Linked DNA regions of Homo sapiens: all the other regions are linked to region 1. The links are contacts of gene promoters, found by promoter capture Hi-C in blood cells and fetal thymus (Javierre and others, 2016). All regions are on one chromosome and are shown on one strand. The core of a region is centred on a gene start or on the middle of the fragment in contact, and the rest is flanking DNA. Distances in the headings are between cores, read along the strand shown. Region 1 holds the start of MSH4 (mutS homolog 4). Region 2 holds the start of CTH (cystathionine gamma-lyase). Region 3 overlaps ANKRD13C (ankyrin repeat domain 13C).

Region 1 (2,700 bases), core at 70-2,569:
CACTTGAGACCAGGAGTTTGAGACCAGCATGGGCAGCATAGCGAGACTCTGTTTCTAAAAATAAAGAAATTAAGAACATTAAATACAGCAGAAAGGTCACATGAGATGAACTGAAAAATGACCATTGGATTTGGTATTTGTTACTTTACCATTGTGTTGCAATCGTGTGTGAAAAATGGTGATGCTTTGTCATGAATAGAGACTAACAAAATAATAAATGATTTGAAGGACATGCATCTTTTTTGTTTGTTTGTTTTGAGTCAGGGTCTCACTGTGTCACCCAGGCTGAAATGCAGTGGCGCAATCTCAGCTCACGGCAGCCTCGACCTCCCGGACTCGCCATCCTCCCACCTCAACCTCCTGAGTAGCTGGGACCACAGTCACGTGCCACCACACCCAGATAATTTTTGTACTTTTAGTAGAGATAGGGGATGGGGGTGGGAGGTTCACCATGTTGGCCAGGCTGGTGTGGAACTCCCGGCCTCAAGTGATCCGCCCACCCTGGTTTCCCAAAGTGCTGGGATTACAGGCGTCAGCCACCGCCCAGCCCACTCTTTTAATACTAAACATATTATTTTCCCTGAATTAGATGAAATGTTCAATTTAATCTATTTTATCCCACCTTAGCAGGATTTGGAGAATTAAATTCAGCAGCCAAAGATCAGCTCACAACTTCTATCAGCAAACTCACGCACAAACTGTCATTTGTCAGACACTGTGAGGGACGTTATATGGGATACTTCAGCCTTTCTCAGAACTGAGCCATCCACAGTCAAGGTCTTGCAATAGAACCAATTTGAAAAGTCAAGGCTTCTAATCACCCAGACTCACCAAATTCCCAGGGCACTCAGATCTCACGCCCCAACCAAATCACAACTTCACTGTGGTAACCACCACCCACGTGCCCCCGAGCCTCCATGAACTGCCGGCCTCTAGCCTCAAGGAGACTCCTCCACCCAATCACTCCTTGCCTTGAGCTGGCCGGGAGTTTGGCGCGGGGCAGGGAAGGCTGCTGCTGCTGCTGCTCCGGTCGCCCGCAGCTCCTGACGTGCCAGGACAGGTGGATGCAGAGACCACCTGGACCGAAGGGCGGCTCTGTGGAGTCTCCTGGAGTCCGAAATTGTAGCGGGGACCCTGAGGTGAGCGGGTTTCTCCCGACGACGGGGAAACCGCCGGGGCAGAAGGCGAGGTTGATGAGATCTCAGGCCTCAGCATCCTCCCAAACCTTCCCTGACCCGAGAAGTATGAGGTTTCTGAGCGACCCCTCCAGTAGCCCAACTACAGAAGCTGCGCCGCTGAAACGGGCGGGAGAACTGCGCGCCGACGCACTAAGCTGCACTGCGCAGGCGCAGGCAGGCTCAGCTTTCCACATGGATTCACGTACTTCAGGTCTATGACCCTGCTTCCAGCCATTCCCAAACCCATCACTTTCCACATGAACCTCACTGGAACATCCTCAGCCTGCAGGTATCAGACTGACCAGAACTCTGCAAGGCCCATCAATGACCACCCGATTTGTTAGCCCCATTATTCTCACAGCACCCAATCTCCCTTATTGCAAATGTTACATGCATTTCCCACACGTCCAAGCACACTAGCTTATCTTTAAATGTAGAAACCACCCAACACAGTACACCCAGTGCCTTTGACACAATGAGAACGTGTAATGCTCACACAGCATAACCCACCTAAGGTTGATCTTGTGACCAAATATAGGAAAGATAGTTATATTATCAAAAGATAGTATGCACATGGCTGTGTGCATAGTAGAGTAGGAAACAGGGAAAGACTGACTGGGTAAGATCTCTCAGTTAACAATTCCCCATCTACCAATTTCTAGTACTGTGGTTTCTAACATATAAATCAGTTAATGGCACACTAGAAGTTCAAACTCCAGCTTTGCAGTGGTGACCTTTAGAAAATTCCTTAAATAAGGCCAATAGTACCAACTTACCAGAGATCCATGGATTAAACATGACGAAATTATCTGGATACTGCCATACAGAAGCTATTAGAAGACATTAATTTACACCACTACTGAAATCCTGCCACTGTTGAGTATCTCAATAAACCAGTTATGCACAGCGGTTTACCCACATGCAGTGACAACAGTCCTTAAGAACATCTCTGTTCTTGGAATGATTATTGCACAGGGCATTCCAAACATACTTGAGAAAAATCTCAATTTCCATCAAAAAACCTTATTTTCAGATCGGGCACGATGGCTCCTCCCTGTAATCCCAGTACTTTGGGAGACTGAGGCCAGAGGATTACTTCACCTCCGGAGACCAGCCTGGGGAAGACAGTGCCTGTCCCCAAAATTAAGAAATCAGCTGGGCATAGTGGGCATGGTGGCAGGTACCTGTAGACCCTGGTACTCAGGAGGCTGAGGTGGAAGGACTGCTTGAGCCCAGGAGTTTAAGGTTACAGTGAGCTGTGATTGCACTACTATGCCCCAGCCTGGGGAAGAAAGGAAGACCCTGTCTCTAAAAAATAAAATTTAAAAATAGAGAATACCTCACTTTCACCAAAACTGTAAACCCCTAGAGTGATTGTACTCATTTTAGGCCAGGCGTGGTGGCTCACGCCTGTAATCCCAGCACTTTGGGAGGCCGAGGTGGGTGGATCACAAGGTCAGGCTGGTCTCCAGCTCCTCAGCATGGTGAAACCCTGTCTGTACTAAAGTAACATAAAAATTAG
Region 2 (2,700 bases), core at 1-2,500, 5.4 Mb after region 1:
AGCGATTCTCCTGCCTCAGCTTCCCGAGTAGCTGAGATTACCCGCCACCATGCCCAGCTAATTTATTTATTTTTAGTAGAGATGGGGTTTCACCATGTTGGCCAGGCTGGGCTCGAACTCCTGTCCTCAGGTGATCCACCCGCCTCAGCCTCCCAAAGTGCTGGGATTACAGGCGTAAGCCACTGCACCCGGTCATGAGTTGTGTTCTTAATCACTAAGCCACAGTGCTTAAATGACGCAATAGGCTAAATTGTTACTAGCATTATTAGAGATAGCATAGTGTAGCTGAGTGCCTAGGAGTTGGTTCCTAAAGCAACCTCAAGTTTCTAAAGTTTGAATTCCATCTCCAATACTTACTAGTCTAAGGCTAGTTACTTAACTCCCTAAATCTCAGCTTCTTTATTGGGAAAAAATGAGAATTCGGTTCAGACTAGGGTTGTTGTTAGGATTAGATGAGACAATACATGTAATACACATGATATATACGAGCACGTATTTGGCATATAGTAGGTACTCAATAACTATTCATACAGCTACTGGAAACAATCTTAATTCTAGTCAAGTTATCAGACCCTTAATATTTTTTAAGCTGACTCCGTACTACATCTTTAAAATTTATGCTGCTAAAGGTAACTCAAAAAAGTTATGACCTTCGATTTTTAATTGCAAATTTGTCAAAATCACCTGAATTTCAGGCCAAATCTAAATGGCAAGCTGGACAAACGGCTCCTTCCAGTCCTGCTTATCAAAAGAAATACGATCACTGGACCATCCGATACAAAGCTGTGCTGCAAGAATTACAGTGTAGAAACATCTTTCGGTTGCCTTCCTAATTTATAAGTCATATTATAAATTACTTACATGCCTTTCAAATTCATAAGCCGTATCTCTTTTACCGCCCAACTGTGGACAGCCCCAGACAGACCCAGCTCACCGAGTGCTGGCCAGGCGCCCCTTGCTTGAACGTGGTGGACAGTGAGATGGGGGGCACTACAGCCCTGGAGGTCCATTGCTCTGGATCCTGGCCCACATGGATCGCCTGCGTGGCGAAATGTTGGAAGTGTGGCAGGAAACCTTGTGAGGAGGCGTCTTTTTCCTGCATGCTGAACCGCGAAAGAAGAAGAGAGGAAAAGAACACCGAAGATATAACCAGTCGAAGCCGGGTGTCCGGGGTTGGGAGAGACAGAAGGATCAGGCGAGAAGGAGCTAAAGCACGCAGGTAGAGCCGACGGCGAGCGCACTAAAGCGGCACACAGCGATTGTTGGGGTGGATTTTATTAGCGGGTCTGCAGTCTCACGATCACAGTGGGGCGGGACCAGCGCGGCCCATTGAGCGCAGGCCCGACGCGTCTCCCGCTCCTTATTGGCTGACAGCAGAGGCGTTGCCTGAAACGTCACCGCGACCGCCCCACCCAGTGCACAAAGCGGAGTGAAGCTGGAGTCCCTGGGTCCAAGTGGTGTTAGTCCCTGCGGGCGAAATTCCTGAGTACCCGTCCTGAGGAGGCTGCCATGCTGGCTCCTGAGAGCCACCCGGGCGTCTCTGTGACCTCAGGCCGGAGGTTCGCCCGAGACGTGGCGGAAAGCTGGCTTAGTGTTGAAACCGGGTAACTGTAAACAGACCACATAAATAGCCTTCTTTTACTGTGGTAGTTACCTCTGACCACCATCCTTTGCCCTGAGGGCGGTGCTAAAAGACGTAAGCCACAACGTGGAGGGTGGTTAAGAAAACAGTTGCCCAAGCCGCCCAGTTTGCAGCTTGGATTCTCATCAGTCACAGCTTGCGTTTTAGGTACACTGAACTCTGTAATGACCCAGTGCTTACGATGACGAAACGATGACTAGAAGTGAAGGTTAAATTGTTCGTAAGACATAACGAAGCTACTGTAGTGAGGACGTCTATGCACAACTCTGGCAGCTTCCTAAAAGTTAGTCAATCTTGAGCTTTTTCAAGCATCATTATCTTCTTTTAAAGTACAGAGAGAAACTCCCCCTAATGAGAAAGATAATGTGGCTTTGAAATACTTACTGGAGCCTAACATCCTTACACAAAATGCTTTTGCTTTTACACAACAGCAACATCCCTGCAGGAAAAAGGATTGTTTACCACTCACCTGCGCCCAGAGCCCTACTCTCAGAAGAATCACTGCTTTAAAACAAAAATCTCCCTGTTCCCTAAGCAATACAGACTTGACCTACTTACTATTGTGGCTGTTTTCTAGCACCAGGAAATTTGGGGATATTTCTGTTGTTGCAAAATATTCGCTAAAGATCTAAAACTTTATTAAACAAATTAAGAACAAGGAGAATAAGGAATAAACAGCTCTTAAAATTTACAGTTTGAAAGAAAGATATGAAGAGAAAGAATGAGGCAATTTGCTTTTCAAATTAGCTTTAGGGACATTTAACCCATTAAGCACTAGAGGAGTGGTGCTTGAGGGCCTACAAGCTTTTAGAATCCTACCAAACTTTGTATGGCTGGGGGAAAAAATGGATAGACTTCAAAACACTAATGTATATTAATACATATTTAATTAATATTTTTCTTTTAAAAATATAACATCAACTGCAACTCACCTCAATATTTATGTATAACTATAGGTGGGTATTTTTGTGTAATATGATATGGCATTTAGGGGCCAAAAGGGTCTAAAACAGTTCCAATTAGTTTTACCTCCTAATATTTGCTGACAAACCCTGAGT
Region 3 (2,700 bases), core at 100-2,599, 5.5 Mb after region 1:
ATACTTGAATCTTTAAATGATTATCTAAGTCATTGATTCTCAGACTTTTTGGATTTCACAGACCAGAAAAATTTTTTTTACTGGTGATTGATATAGGGAATCTAACTTTTTCATCTTAGACTATCAGAACTTTATAAAAACGATAACTACTGTCTTTTGTGATCCACATTTTATTTTTAAAAAAAAGATATTTGAAACCAAAAGTAGGAAGAATAGTCTTTAAAAAAATTTATTAAGAAAAAACTCATTCTAGTACACATTTTTTCTCATTTTCTGTATATCATTGGAAACTCAAACAATTGGGCACAGAAATGTAGGTTCGTATTTGGGAATTATTGATTTAGGTCACCGAGCTAGTAAATGGTAGAACTGAAACTAGGTCCTGCATTCCGATTTCTGTGTCTCAGTTTTGATTATTTTGAGACACCTTCAGTAATTTAAGCATTGTTCTTTGATTTTTGGCTTTTTAAAATATATTGGAATTTAGTTAGACCTGTGGTTAAAAATAAGAATAGCTCCTACTATTTTTACATGCTTCCCTAGATTTTTCCTAATTTTGGACCTATGTGGACAAAAAAAAAAAATCTAGTCCAAGCTTTCACTACCTTCTTTTTTTATTCGCCTTCTGCTTCTGCGTTCCACATGGGACTTGAAGTGGTTTATAAGAATGCATGCTGTGAAATAGTAAAAATAATTTACTGATTTTTAAAAAGCCCTCAGAACGCATATGTATATGTATGTATATGAAAAATGTGTTAGAATCAGGAGGAAACTAGCGTGTATATATGTATATATTTTCCCCGATGCACATTTTTCCATGTTCTTATTTTTTCCTATGCTTATTTCATTCAAGTCTAATATTTTTTCTTATTTTGGTAAATATTAAGGATTAATTGATTGATTTTGCCAGTGAATTTTAGACCTTCATTCTAATAGATAAAAATTGTATTTAGTTAATTACAGGCACAGTGTCTTGCTCTGTCACCCAGGCTGGAGTGCAGTGGTCATAGCTCACTGCAGCCTCAAACTCTTGGGCACAACCAGTCCTCCTGTCTCAGCCTCCCAAGTAGCTAGGACCACAGGTACACACCATCAAGCCCTGGCTAATTTTTTTTTTTTTTTTTAATAGAGATGGGGTCTTACTATGTTTCCCAGGCTGGTCTCGAACTCCTGAGCTCAAGTGATCCTCTCACCTTAACCTCCTGAGTAGCTGGGACTACAGGTGCAGACCACTGTGCCCTTACTTCTATTCTTACTTGACAAAGGAGAGGAAAAAAAAAGGAAGTTTAGAGAAATTAAGTAGTAACTTGTCCAAGTTTACCCACAACCACTAAGTGGTAAAGCTGGGGTTTGAACTTCAGCAATGTGCTTAAATCTCAGTAACTGAAAATACACTATGGAGGACCTTTAGGTTTTCTTAGATTCAGAAGTTCTTTTTCCATGTACAATAAGATTCATTTTTGTATTTTTTATACTGTGCTGGTAGTATGTGAAGGTATATCCTCCAGTGGTAAAAGAACAGATAACACCTGGTAACAATTGCAGGTAATTATATGTTTTTAGAAAAGTGGCTTCCAGTGGGATTTTTGAGATCTGTTGTTTTTGAGATCTTCCTTGAGGTCAGTGTTCTATTAGGACATTGCATCATTTGAATGAGTTTGGTTATCTTGGCACAGTTAGGTAAATCGTTACTGATAATTAAAAAACTAGTAAAAGCTAGTGTGAATATGGTATAGGTTGATGTTGAAATATCTCTTCTCATTATTCTTTGGGGATCATACCAGTTTTATTAAACTTACTTACTAACTTATTCTATCTATATAGGTCCCATGTTCTCTGACTTCTATGTCTCAGCTTCTTTTACTGTTCCAAGAGGCCTTCAGTAATTTAAACATTGCTCTTTGATTTTTGGCCTTTCAAAATATATTGTAGATGTAGATACACACATACACATACACACATACATGCACGTGCATATATGTGTACATGTATTATCTATCTATATGTATAATAAGCCAGTGGTGTTTTTACTGCATGATGAAAATTTAAATTAGTTATTTTTAAAATTTAAACTTTAGTTACAGCTCTTTTGAGGAAGCTTAAGCAGCAATCCAGGGAAAGTGTTGAAGAAAAACGACCTCGATTATTAAAAGCCCTGAAAGAGGTAAGCTATATTTCTTTGTTAATTTTGCACCTTGGAAGTAATTATAAGTGTAGTTTTAAGCATTTTTTTCTTAATACAACTTAAATTCTCACTTATTAGGGGCCAAAAAATGGTAAAAATCATGCTTAAATTAAGCAATAATTAGTGTATGAATGTGATCTTAGTAGAAGCACCTCAGTTTGAACTAGGAAGATAAAGATTTATTACTTTCAATAAATTAGATAAGAGCTCTAAAGAAAAAAAAAGGAGGTAAGTCACAGTTAATGGCAATAATTTTCCTTTGCCTTTGAATTAGAAGATTCTCTATAGCTAAAGCCATTGCTACTAGAAGTGGCAGTTTTTTTTGTTTGTTTGTTTTGGAGACAGCGCCTCACTCTGTCGCCCAGCTAATTTTTTGTATTTTTAGTAGAGATGGGGTTTCACCATATTACCCAGGCTGGTATCAAACTCCTGAGCTCAAGCAATCCGCCTGCCTCAGCCTCCTAGAGTGCTGGGATTATAGGCGTGAGCCACCGTGCCCGGCCTGTATATTCTTT

What was found. The method cuts DNA at HindIII sites, captures the fragments that hold promoters and counts their contacts. A CHiCAGO score of 5 or more calls a contact.
Region 2: a contact is called between the fragment with the promoter of CTH here and the fragment with the promoter of MSH4 in region 1, in 1 of 17 cell types (total CD4 T cells). The highest score is 6.8, in total CD4 T cells.
Region 3: a contact is called between a fragment that was not itself captured here and the fragment with the promoter of MSH4 in region 1, in 1 of 17 cell types (total CD8 T cells). The highest score is 6.1, in total CD8 T cells.

What each region holds. Positions count from the first base shown.
Region 1 is chr1:75,795,501-75,798,200 of GRCh38, reverse strand. MSH4 (mutS homolog 4) reads right to left here and starts at 1,319. Exons shown (of 20, transcript NM_002440.4): 1 at 972-1,319. The coding sequence starts at 1,215. The HindIII fragment of the contact is 6,934 bases long and covers 1-2,700 here.
Region 2 is chr1:70,409,818-70,412,517 of GRCh38, reverse strand. CTH (cystathionine gamma-lyase) reads right to left here and starts at 1,250. Exons shown (of 12, transcript NM_001902.6): 1 at 935-1,250. The coding sequence starts at 1,102. RefSeq lists a silencer at 1,210-1,359 and an enhancer at 1,420-1,679. The HindIII fragment of the contact is 3,560 bases long and covers 1-2,448 here.
Region 3 is chr1:70,314,945-70,317,644 of GRCh38, reverse strand. It overlaps ANKRD13C (ankyrin repeat domain 13C), which reads left to right. Exons shown (of 13, transcript NM_030816.5): 4 at 2,079-2,164. Among named protein-coding and RNA genes, the nearest start is that of ANKRD13C, 38 kb to the left of the region's middle. The HindIII fragment of the contact is 1,503 bases long and covers 598-2,100 here.